3 separate regions of the Homo sapiens genome follow, and regions 2 and 3 are each linked to region 1. Evidence: promoter capture Hi-C in 16 types of primary human blood cells and fetal thymus (Javierre and others, 2016). All regions are on one chromosome and are shown on one strand. Each heading gives the region's core, a stretch centred on a gene start or on the middle of the fragment in contact. The rest is flanking DNA. Distances are from core to core; before and after follow the strand shown.

Evidence for each region. Contacts are between HindIII fragments. The CHiCAGO score rates a contact against its expected background, and 5 or more counts as called.
Region 2: a contact is called between the fragment with the promoter of OSGEPL1-AS1 here and the fragment with the promoter of PGAP1 in region 1, in 1 of 17 cell types (non-activated CD4 T cells). The highest score is 6.3, in non-activated CD4 T cells.
Region 3: the fragment with the promoter of ORMDL1 here is called in contact with the fragment with the promoter of PGAP1 in region 1 in 1 of 17 cell types (non-activated CD4 T cells); the score reaches 7.0 in non-activated CD4 T cells.

Annotation. Positions count from the first base shown.
Region 1 is chr2:196,925,042-196,928,156 of GRCh38, reverse strand. PGAP1 (post-GPI attachment to proteins inositol deacylase 1) reads left to right here and starts at 1,450. Exons shown (of 27, transcript NM_024989.4): 1 at 1,450-1,687. The coding sequence starts at 1,541. RefSeq lists a silencer at 1,252-1,501. The HindIII fragment of the contact is 4,012 bases long and covers 167-3,115 here.
Region 2 is chr2:189,761,239-189,764,353 of GRCh38, reverse strand. It overlaps OSGEPL1-AS1 (OSGEPL1 antisense RNA 1), which reads right to left and starts at 1,574. Exons shown (of 2, transcript NR_102429.1): 1 at 1,362-1,574. OSGEPL1 (O-sialoglycoprotein endopeptidase like 1) reads left to right here and starts at 1,562. Exons shown (of 9, transcript NM_022353.3): 1 at 1,562-1,669; 2 at 2,694-2,934. The coding sequence starts at 2,714. It also overlaps a transcript of ANKAR not described here and a transcript of ORMDL1 not described here. RefSeq lists enhancers at 887-1,633, 1,920-2,079. The HindIII fragment of the contact is 3,776 bases long and covers 1,487-3,115 here.
Region 3 is chr2:189,782,694-189,785,808 of GRCh38, reverse strand. ORMDL1 (ORMDL sphingolipid biosynthesis regulator 1) reads left to right here and starts at 1,470. Exons shown (of 5, transcript NM_016467.5): 1 at 1,470-1,540; 2 at 2,686-2,795. It overlaps PMS1 (PMS1 homolog 1, mismatch repair system component), which reads right to left and starts at 1,359. Exons shown (of 13, transcript NM_000534.5): 1 at 1,216-1,359. RefSeq lists enhancers at 942-991, 1,542-1,771, 1,782-1,841, 1,932-2,011, 1,297-2,183 and a silencer at 1,352-1,401. The HindIII fragment of the contact is 2,480 bases long and covers 1,442-3,115 here.

The DNA of each region.
Region 1 (3,115 bases), core at 201-2,700:
TCTTTCTCCGTCAATACTCCACATTCCGTAGCTAGCTGTGTTTGTTTAGACTTGCAACTGTTTCTGTGCAGGGTAAAGACTATCTTGATTTTCAGGATCACTCCACTTCTTCTTCATAGTTTCGTAATCTGAACATCAGGGTGTTGTACAAGATAAACTATAAGCTTCCTTTTGGTTTTAAAATTCTTTGATTTTATGTATTGTAGCCAAACTTCCTCTGCACAGAAAATATACCAGAAAATCAGCCCAAGTTCAATGAAATTCATTTAGTGCCAAAGACCATTCTAAGAATCCTGTGGTTACTACACACACACGCACACACACACCGTCTACTGTTGAGTCAGCTTTAAAGAGTGATGTCTTTTTCCTAACATTCTAGTGTTTTGAAGCTGCTACAAGTGATTGATTTCGAGCTTTTTTTAAAAACTCCTCCTTTGTACAAAACAGAACCGAAATTCTTCAAAACGAATTAAGTCATTTGCGAGTTTGAATGGAAGCTGGACGAAATTGCCTCCTCCAGTTAACGTGGAACCCATTCCCCAAGAGATGGAGGTTCTGGAGAGCAAGGCGAGTCAGCGTCAAACTGATTACGCAGATACCTGTTGGGGACGTCAGTGCTAATAGATATTTTGGTAACATATTTTAAGGACTAACGATGCTTTTTGTGATTCAGGCTTTCATCTGATACCAAGAGCAGAATCTCGTCGGCTTGCGGGTGTTTTTTTTTTTTTTTTTTTTTTTTTTTTTAATGAGCCGGTGCTTTTAAGCGCTGTTACCTACTGGGCCCAAGTAGGCGGTAGAAGAGGGAAAATAAAGCCATTTGTTCCCTCTTCAAGCTAACTGCTCCAGAGAGCTGTGAGTGTGCTCTACTACCGTTGGGAAAACCGAAATTGCGGAGGCCTGAGTCTTTTCAAAATTGAACGGGAAGCGTTTTTAAACTGCCGCAGGGAGAGGCGTTTGCGAGGTGACAGCTGATGACCCCTGGGCTTTTAAGTCCTCCTCCCCTCTCTCGGTCCGCTCTCGGTCCTTAATCGCCTCTGGACTCTGGGCTCTAGTCCCCTCCCCAGATTCACCCATCTGACACCCGCCTCCTGCCCAATCCCCCGGCTCGTCTCCAGGGCTCCCGCGCTCCGCCCATCCCCCTCTGGATGCTTCCTCTCTCTCTCTTCTTTCCCTCCCGCCAGCCACTCCTCGCGTCTTTCTCTCCCCACTTCCCTTCTTTCCCCTCACCCTCCAGCCCAGCCCACCCTGCTTTCTCCCTCTTTCTCTTTCCCGTAGATCCGCGCTCGCGCTGCAACACCTACTCCTCCCTCGGCTCTGGGAGTCGCCAGGCCAGAGGCGCCGCGGACCTGGTGCGCGCAGGCGCACTGCGCGGCTGGCGAACGGGCAGGCCGGGCATCAGCGCAGGCGCGCGCGGCTGGGGCTCGGCTCCGGGGGTGGCGGTCGGACAGTGTCTAGCACGCTCAGTCCGGGCTTGGGGCCCCGCGGCGGAGAAGGAGGTAGAGGGGGCGGCGGCGGCGGCGGCGGTGGTGGCGGCACCATGTTTCTTCACTCAGTTAATCTCTGGAACCTGGCGTTTTATGTCTTCATGGTCTTTCTGGCAACCCTGGGGCTGTGGGATGTCTTCTTCGGCTTCGAGGAGAATAAGTGCAGTATGAGCTACATGTTTGAGTACCCGGAGTATCAGGTAAGGTTCTGCCCTCTCCTCAGCCGGGCGCTCCAAGACTCTGGCCCCTGGTGCCTTTTTCCTTCTGTGGGTTCGTCCTGCCTTGGCTCTCTGCGCCTCTCGGGCCCCCTGTCCCGTCCTCGCCTCTGTTTTCTCCGCCCGGGGAGACTCTGCATCCCCCTTCTGCCCCCCTCACCTCCCCTTTGTGTCCCTTCTTCACGGTGGGGTGTTTGTTAGACGATTTCCCGAGAGCATCCTCGTGGTCGTCCTCGTAGTTACTCCGCTGTCCCTCCGCCTCCTCCCCAGCCCCAAATCCTGGGCACAAGCTCTTCTGACTGGCCGGGCCCAGCCCCCCTCATGCCCAGAGAGGCAGCCTCAACCCTTCTCCCTAAACCGAAGCTCCATCCCTCTCGCGTTCTTGCCTTAACCCGTGCCCCAGGACCTTCCTTTGCTTCCCACGCGCCTAAATTCCCCTCGCGCCCGGTGATCTGCTCGTCAGATTTCGCATTTCTAGAAAGGGACCGAGCGTCTGCAGAGTGTATATTGGCTAGATAGTTCCCAAGGCTGTTTTTAGAGACTCCAGGGTTTTGCCTATGGGTAAACTGGCGAGTCATTGAATTGGAAACTAGATCCCCTCTTGGAAAGATGTTGCAGATCCTCTTATTTTGCAGGTTAAGGGGCCGTGCGTGTGTGGGCTTGCCTGTGTGTGTGCATACCTGTGTTTATGCATGTCTCTCAGCAGCCGAGCCTCTTAATAGTTGCATACAAAATCTATTTCATGGTGCTATTTTTGTTTTCTCGCTGGGTTCGGAGTTTAAGAGAGAGCCAACCCTTCTCTCTCCACCCCTACCGCTTCCATGCCATTTTGAATGTTTTCAATCAATGGCTTCGTTAGTTCGGCATAGTAGGATCTAGAATTTCATTCATGACTAGCTGTAAAAAGAGGCGCAGACAAATTACACAACTGTCCTAAGAGAATTTTTCCGAATGATTCTTTTATTTCTAAGTGCATCTCTTAATTATGGACTACCTATTGTAATAATTCCCTACCATAAAATGTATATGCACTATAACATATATTGATAAAATACATTTTTAGTATACTCTTAAAATCACAGCAGTTTTTTTTTTAGGGTGAAGGATGCAAGTCCTGATTGCTTCTTTGTACAAGTCATTATGGAGGAAGCCTGTTACTTGATTACGCTGCTATTATTTTGATCTTAAGACTACTTAAGGTTTAAATTGCTGAAGAGCATTCTTTCCCATGGGAAAAATTCTAGTAAATTTAGATTTCATTTGTGTTTAGATCCTTACCTTGGTTTTGCATTTATGATGATAAGAGAGTGGAAACATTTGGTAGGGATGCTATCGAAGGAGAAGATTTTGACATGTTACTGTCGTCTCTGTTCATTTCTAAGCAAACCTTTTTAGTTTAGTATTTTAAAAAAC
Region 2 (3,115 bases), core at 325-2,824, 7.2 Mb after region 1:
CAGCACAGAAGAGCATTGGGATATACTTGCTGAACATAATTGGAATTGTAAGAAAAATAATACCTGATGTGAAAGGTTTTATGTTCAAACTGGATTCCAGTGTATAACAGAAATAAGCTCTGACCTCTCTAACCGTATGACTAATTTTTCTTAACTTTTAGGTTTTAATTTTTCTTTTTTCCCTTGTTTAGGCCAACAGTGCACCCTAGAGAAAATGTGAGTTATTTTCTCTTCTAGCAGTTAAGAAAACAGACTCCAGTGCCAGATGTCCTGACTTCTAATCCTAGCTTTGCTTTTCCTAGTTGTGTGACCTCCAAAGCACCCAAACTCTGTGGCCCAGTTGCCTGTAAAATGAGGACAGAAACTATTTCATGGGATTTTGAAAGAAATTAATCTACAGCAGGTGCCTGGTACATAGTGCCACTTTATCATTATTGTTACACATAAATGAAATTTTTGAAAAACATAAGTTCCAAATAAAAAACCTCAACCATATTCTGGTAATTATTTACTTATTTATCTGTATCCACCTCTAGACTGTACTCTGTGGCTTCCCAACATGTTGTTATGGGATTTACTCATCTTTTATACCCAGAGCTTCACAACGTGCAAAGTGCAGGTATATATGCCAGCCCTGTACAACAGTGGATTCTAAGGTCCTTGCTTACTAAAATCTTAAATACCAGCAGGGGAAAAGCCTGACTCTTGGAATAAATCTGTCCAATGTTCAAAACAAAGTTCACAAACCAATAAAAGAAAAAAAAAAAAAAAAGCAGGTGCAAGACTTTGAAAACATACCATGCTGAATTTCATGTACATAGTAAGGAAGGACAACATAATGCATTATGAAAATAGGATGGTTTAAGGCAACTGAATATTTACCACAGCCTTTTTTTTTTTTTTTTTTTTTTTTTTGAGACAGAGTCTCGCTCTGTAGCTCAGGCTGGAGTGCAGTGGCGCGATCTCGGCTCACTGCTACCTCCGCCTCCCGGGTCCCAGTTCAAGCAGTTCTCCTGCCTCAGTCTCCCGATTTTTTTTTTTTTTAATTGTAAAAATAAGCCAGCCCCTTTCTTCCTAGTGAAGTGGGAGAAACGGTTTACACTGTCCGATGAGAAACACTTCCGTTCTTTGGTAACCCTGCTAGGGGGCGCCGCTAGATTCCATCCTATTTCTCCGATGAAAGTATCAGGTACCTCACCCCTAAGTTTAGATTTGATGATAGTTCCCTTAAAAATGAATGACGAATAATCTACCCCATCCTTTTCTCACAGTAGCAACCAAATTCCAGCCAAGGGCAAAAAAAAAATTTCTTTTTAATGTAGCTTAGTGTTTGGAACTTGATGTTGTGTAGTCAGACAAACCTGTATTCGGCCTCCGCTGGATCAGTCACTAGCTGTGTAATTTTACAGAACTCTCATCACCTGCAAATCTGGGGGAAATGCAGGTGCGCACAGAGAGCGTTTTGGGCAAAGACGGCCTTTAAGCTTTTCTTCACTAAGCATGCCGCTCGCTAGCGGAACAGCAGCCAGCTCTGGACGGGACCTTGCACAGTTCCGATGACATCACTTCCGGGCGCCAGGTTCGGGCTTTCTCCTGCAGCGATAAGGGCAGTCGACAGTCTTTAGTAGGGAAAGGAGACAAGTGCTAGCTACTGCCGCCCAAGTGGAAGGTGGGTGAAATTGCTCACTCTTCACCCCACTGACGCTTTTGCGCACCTGGAAAAGCGGTTCCAGTTTGCGCCCGTCGCCGCCTTACAGCCGACAGGAGACCAGCGCTACCCAAGTCACGTGGGTTCAGCCTGCAGCTTTCTTGGCCCGAAAGGGTAGTGCTTCGTACAATCCTCCTTGTCCAGATTTTGTTAATGCAAATCTAATTCCTCTAGGTTGTGTCTGTCTGGGCTGCACTGCCCGCAACTGCCTTCTGCAAATAGGTCGCTCATCTCTAATCCCTGGGATGCCGTGTCCCTTTAGTGTGGTGGAGAAAGGCCCTGCTTTAACACCCAGAAAGTTTTAGAACGGATGATCTGGGGGCATAAAATTAGGTGCTTCGCAGTGTGAAAATACTAGTGTGCTTTAGTGATGGGCTGCTATTATTTTGGGGGAAAAGGATTTGGGAAGATCCTTGTTATGACAAAACCTGTAGCAAAAAGTGGAGATTTAATTCCAAAGATTGCAATTAAGGATAAAATAGGTGTTAGGTTGCAGTTGGCGTGTGTGTGTTTATGTTAACTCTTGTTTTTGAACCAAATGATCCAGTTTTATTTTGAAAGATGTTTTTAGGAGATGGAATACATTAACAGTATTTTTATCTGTTCCATCTGCCTTTGTTGTTTGATTCTTTTTAGAAAATCCACATTTTGTCTTAATTTTAGCTGTCAAAAAATAAATAGCACTTTTCAGAGGACTCTATCAATTATTGTACTTTATATTAGCTGTCTTAATAGTAAGTCTTTTGGTAGGAACAGCATGCAAGTAATAATAATACTAAAAAATTTTATATCTGACCCCTGTTTTCCCCCTTGGAGAACATTATATTCATTCATAATATTATTTATATTCCCATGTTGCTATAGCCTTTACAAACTTTTGGTGACTTTTACAAACTTTCCTGTAATTCTGTAAAACTATATATTGAAAAATAAGCTGGCTAATGTCAGTTGCAAATAATAAGTTGTTTCTGTAATTCTTTTTCAGGAATTATCTATAGAGTAAGTATGCTAATCTTGACTAAGACTGCAGGAGTTTTTTTTAAACCATCAAAAAGGAAAGTTTATGAATTTTTAAGAAGTTTTAATTTTCATCCTGGAACACTATTTCTTCATAAAATAGTATTGGGAATTGAAACTAGTTGTGATGATACAGCAGCTGCTGTGGTGGATGAAACTGGAAATGTGTTGGGAGAAGCAATACATTCCCAAACTGAAGTTCATTTAAAGTAAGTAGACATTATCTTAGTCATTTCCACTTTTTTGGAAAAAGTAAAATCATTCTTTTGTATTTGTCATATATAAAAGTTTTCAGGAGCTACTGTCTTATTCCTTTTTGCAAACACTTTTAATAACTGCTATAGAAAACCTCAAACACTTCATCCTGGCTTTTAAGGGTCTTCACAATAA
Region 3 (3,115 bases), core at 221-2,720, 7.1 Mb after region 1:
TTCCTCAGCTCACATGGTTCTCTCTCAGCTGACTTCTAATCATCCTTCCAGATTTAGTTCAGTATCAACTCTTCAAGCCTTTCTTCCCTGCTGCAGCCTCCTTTCCTTCACCTGCCAACAGATTAGGTATTCCTTCCCCTGCAGTCCCCCTTTACCTCATTTCTAATTAACCTCATCACAAGTTACTCTATTAATATGTGTTTCTGTCTGTTGCTCCTGACTCAGAGTTCTTTGAGGACAGGGGTTTTATATCAATCACACATCGCTAGCATAGCCCCTGGAATATAGCACTCTATACCATATGTGTACCAAATGGAAGGGTTTATATCGGGCTTACAAATCACAGCAAAGAATGTCTGGGAATATCAGGATAGTCAGTCTTCCATATTTGCTGGGAGGGAAAAGGAACACTTCTGAAGAAGTGCTGATGACCCGGAAAGTCAGTTAAGGACAACAGGTGTGCCTAAAAAAGAAGTAAAGATCAGAGAACTCACAGACTTCCATTAGAGAGAACACAAAGAAATCATTTATTTAAAGATCAGACTAAATCCAAAACAATTAGGTTCACAAAGCCAACAGAAATGCAAGATACAGACATACACAGCCAACATTCTCTTAAGTCAATTTCAAAATGTTGAAAGCTATTTCGGCAATAAAAATCACAAACTTTCTGCACTGCCAAGGTGAGGGAAATTACATTTCAAAGGCGATTCCAAAAAAACCTAATCAAGACTTTCCTCAGGATCAATTTTTGGTATTCACATTTCCTTAGCATGTAATACAGGTGCCTGTCTTCGGCGTACGGATAAACCCAGAAGGCCAAGAGCAAAAATCGTGATTAACTTTAAAGAGTTTAACTTGCACCCCTTGTATGATGCCACAGGATACAATACTATAAACCGCCACTCACACAAGATGAGTTACAGTTGCCATGGGTTAAATCTGCTGCCTGGAAAACAAATTTTAAGTCCTCCACCCAGAAGGGTCTGGGGAATGGGACGCAACAAAGACCAAGCCAGAACACCCCGGAGCCCAGACCTGCTCAGAAAACGCGTTCCACGTGTGCGCGCCCGCAAGCCCGGCTTCGCTTCCCGCCCCGCGGGGAGCGCCCTTAGCTGCCCTATAGCGTTCGCGCCCGGACCAGGACGAGTAGAGGGGACGGGGCCCTCGAGCCATCGAGGATATAATAAATACCCGTTAGTCACACCACACTACCTTCCTGCTAGCGCGAGGCAGGCAATTACCATCCACTAGCCGCAAGCAGCCAGCGTCTCACCCGATGCGCAGGCCCAACCCCGCACCCGCACCCGCACCCAGCACGCACGCGCGCGGCAGAGCGGGTGCAGAGAGCGCGGCACTGAGTCCCGCCTCGCCCGGGGGCAACGTGAGATTGGCGCTGCTCGCAGCCAATCCGCTGGCAGCGAGTCTGTCCGGGAAAGCTTCCGCAAGCTGCGCAGCGCCGGGCCTGAGGGCGTGTATCCGCGGCCGTAGCAGCCGGGCTGGTCCTGCTGCGAGCCGGCGGCCCGGAGTGGGGCGGCGGGTAAGTGGGCACGAACGCGGTGGACGCTGTACAGTCGCCTTCGTCGGTAGGGAACTGCTGGCGGCCTAGGGGTCGTCCTGAGAGGGAAAAGCGGGCTCCGGCTGCATCTGCGGCGCCCTGCGTGGCCGTAAGAGCCAAGTGGCCTCAGAGGCTCGCCCCCTACGCAAATCCTCGTTGTCTTGCCAGGGTCCTGACGTGACGTGCGGCCGCGAGAAGGAAGGGGCGGGTTGGGGGAGGCGCTGAGGTGGTAGCAGCGGCGGCTTTTGCTGAGTTTTCTCTGGCCCAGAGCGCTCGGGCTGTCGGTCTAGCAGGGGGGACTCCCCTGAGGGGCCGCTGCGGGTCGCCGTCTTCGGAGGCACCGGCGAGGGCAGAGCCAACAGCCTCTTCACGGTCTGTAAGGTCATTGTTTGCCAGTCGTGGGCAGCGCGGCAAACCTGCTGGGAAAAGGTTTTCTGGTTGGAATAGGATGAGTACCGCACCAGCTTTGCCTTCCAGCTGAGATGTAAATTTCAGGCCTCCATCCTGTGGAACGTGGGAAAACTATCTTGAGTGTTGGCATGTTCTAAGTATGACATAATAGTTTAATGTATGATAAATCATGGGTGTTTAGACGAAAGATTTACACATATAAATTGGAGGCTTTAGCGGTCTTAGTGTAACTAACTTTTCGTCCCCTTAACCCTTGATGCCTGTTCTATGGGTCTCTAGAGCGGAAGGAGCATTATACTCCGGAAACATTTGCTGGAAGGGGTTATGAGAAATTCCTCTCTGTATGCTAACTCCGTAATACAAGCGTTTGTGTATTTTAAAATCACAGCTGTTCCAAATATAATCTAGCCTCGTTTTCCCCCTCCGTCGGATGATAGGTGTTCTTCAGGACAGTTTTATTTTAAGCAATTCTTAGTCTCAAGTAAACACCATCATTAAAAGAACTGAGAACTATTATCAATTCTTCCTTTGGAGTCCATCTTCAATGGAAAGGAGAAGGGAAAACCTTTTTTAAAAAGAAGAAAGAAAACTGAAGTTTTTGATTTGACTAGAGAAATATTCAGAAGACTCCTTATTTTCACCTAGTTTAATCACAAAATTGAGAAACAAACATTATCCCTTGACCATGTAAATTTTACACCACATTATGTCAACAGCATGTACCTTCCACATTGAGTATTCAGAAAGAAGTGATCTGAACTCTGACCATTCTTTATGGATACATTAAGTCAAATATAAGAGTCTGACTACTTGACACACTGGCTCGGTGAGTTCTGCTTTTTCTTTTTAATATAAATTTATTATGTTGGTAAATTTAGCTTTTGGCTTTTCACTTTGCTCTCATGATATAAGAAAATGTAGGTTTTCTCTTTCAGTTTGAATTTTCCTATTCAGTAAAACAACATGCTAGAAAACAAACTTTTGGAAAGGCATTGTAACTATTTTTTCAAATAGAACCATAATAACAAGTCTTGTCTTACCCTAAAGTCAAATGCTGAAGATTCTTTACTGCTGTCATCAGCATCTACAAGTAGCATATTTTGGATGGTGTTTGTGTGCTACTTCAAAGTAACTAGGAAAAAATAA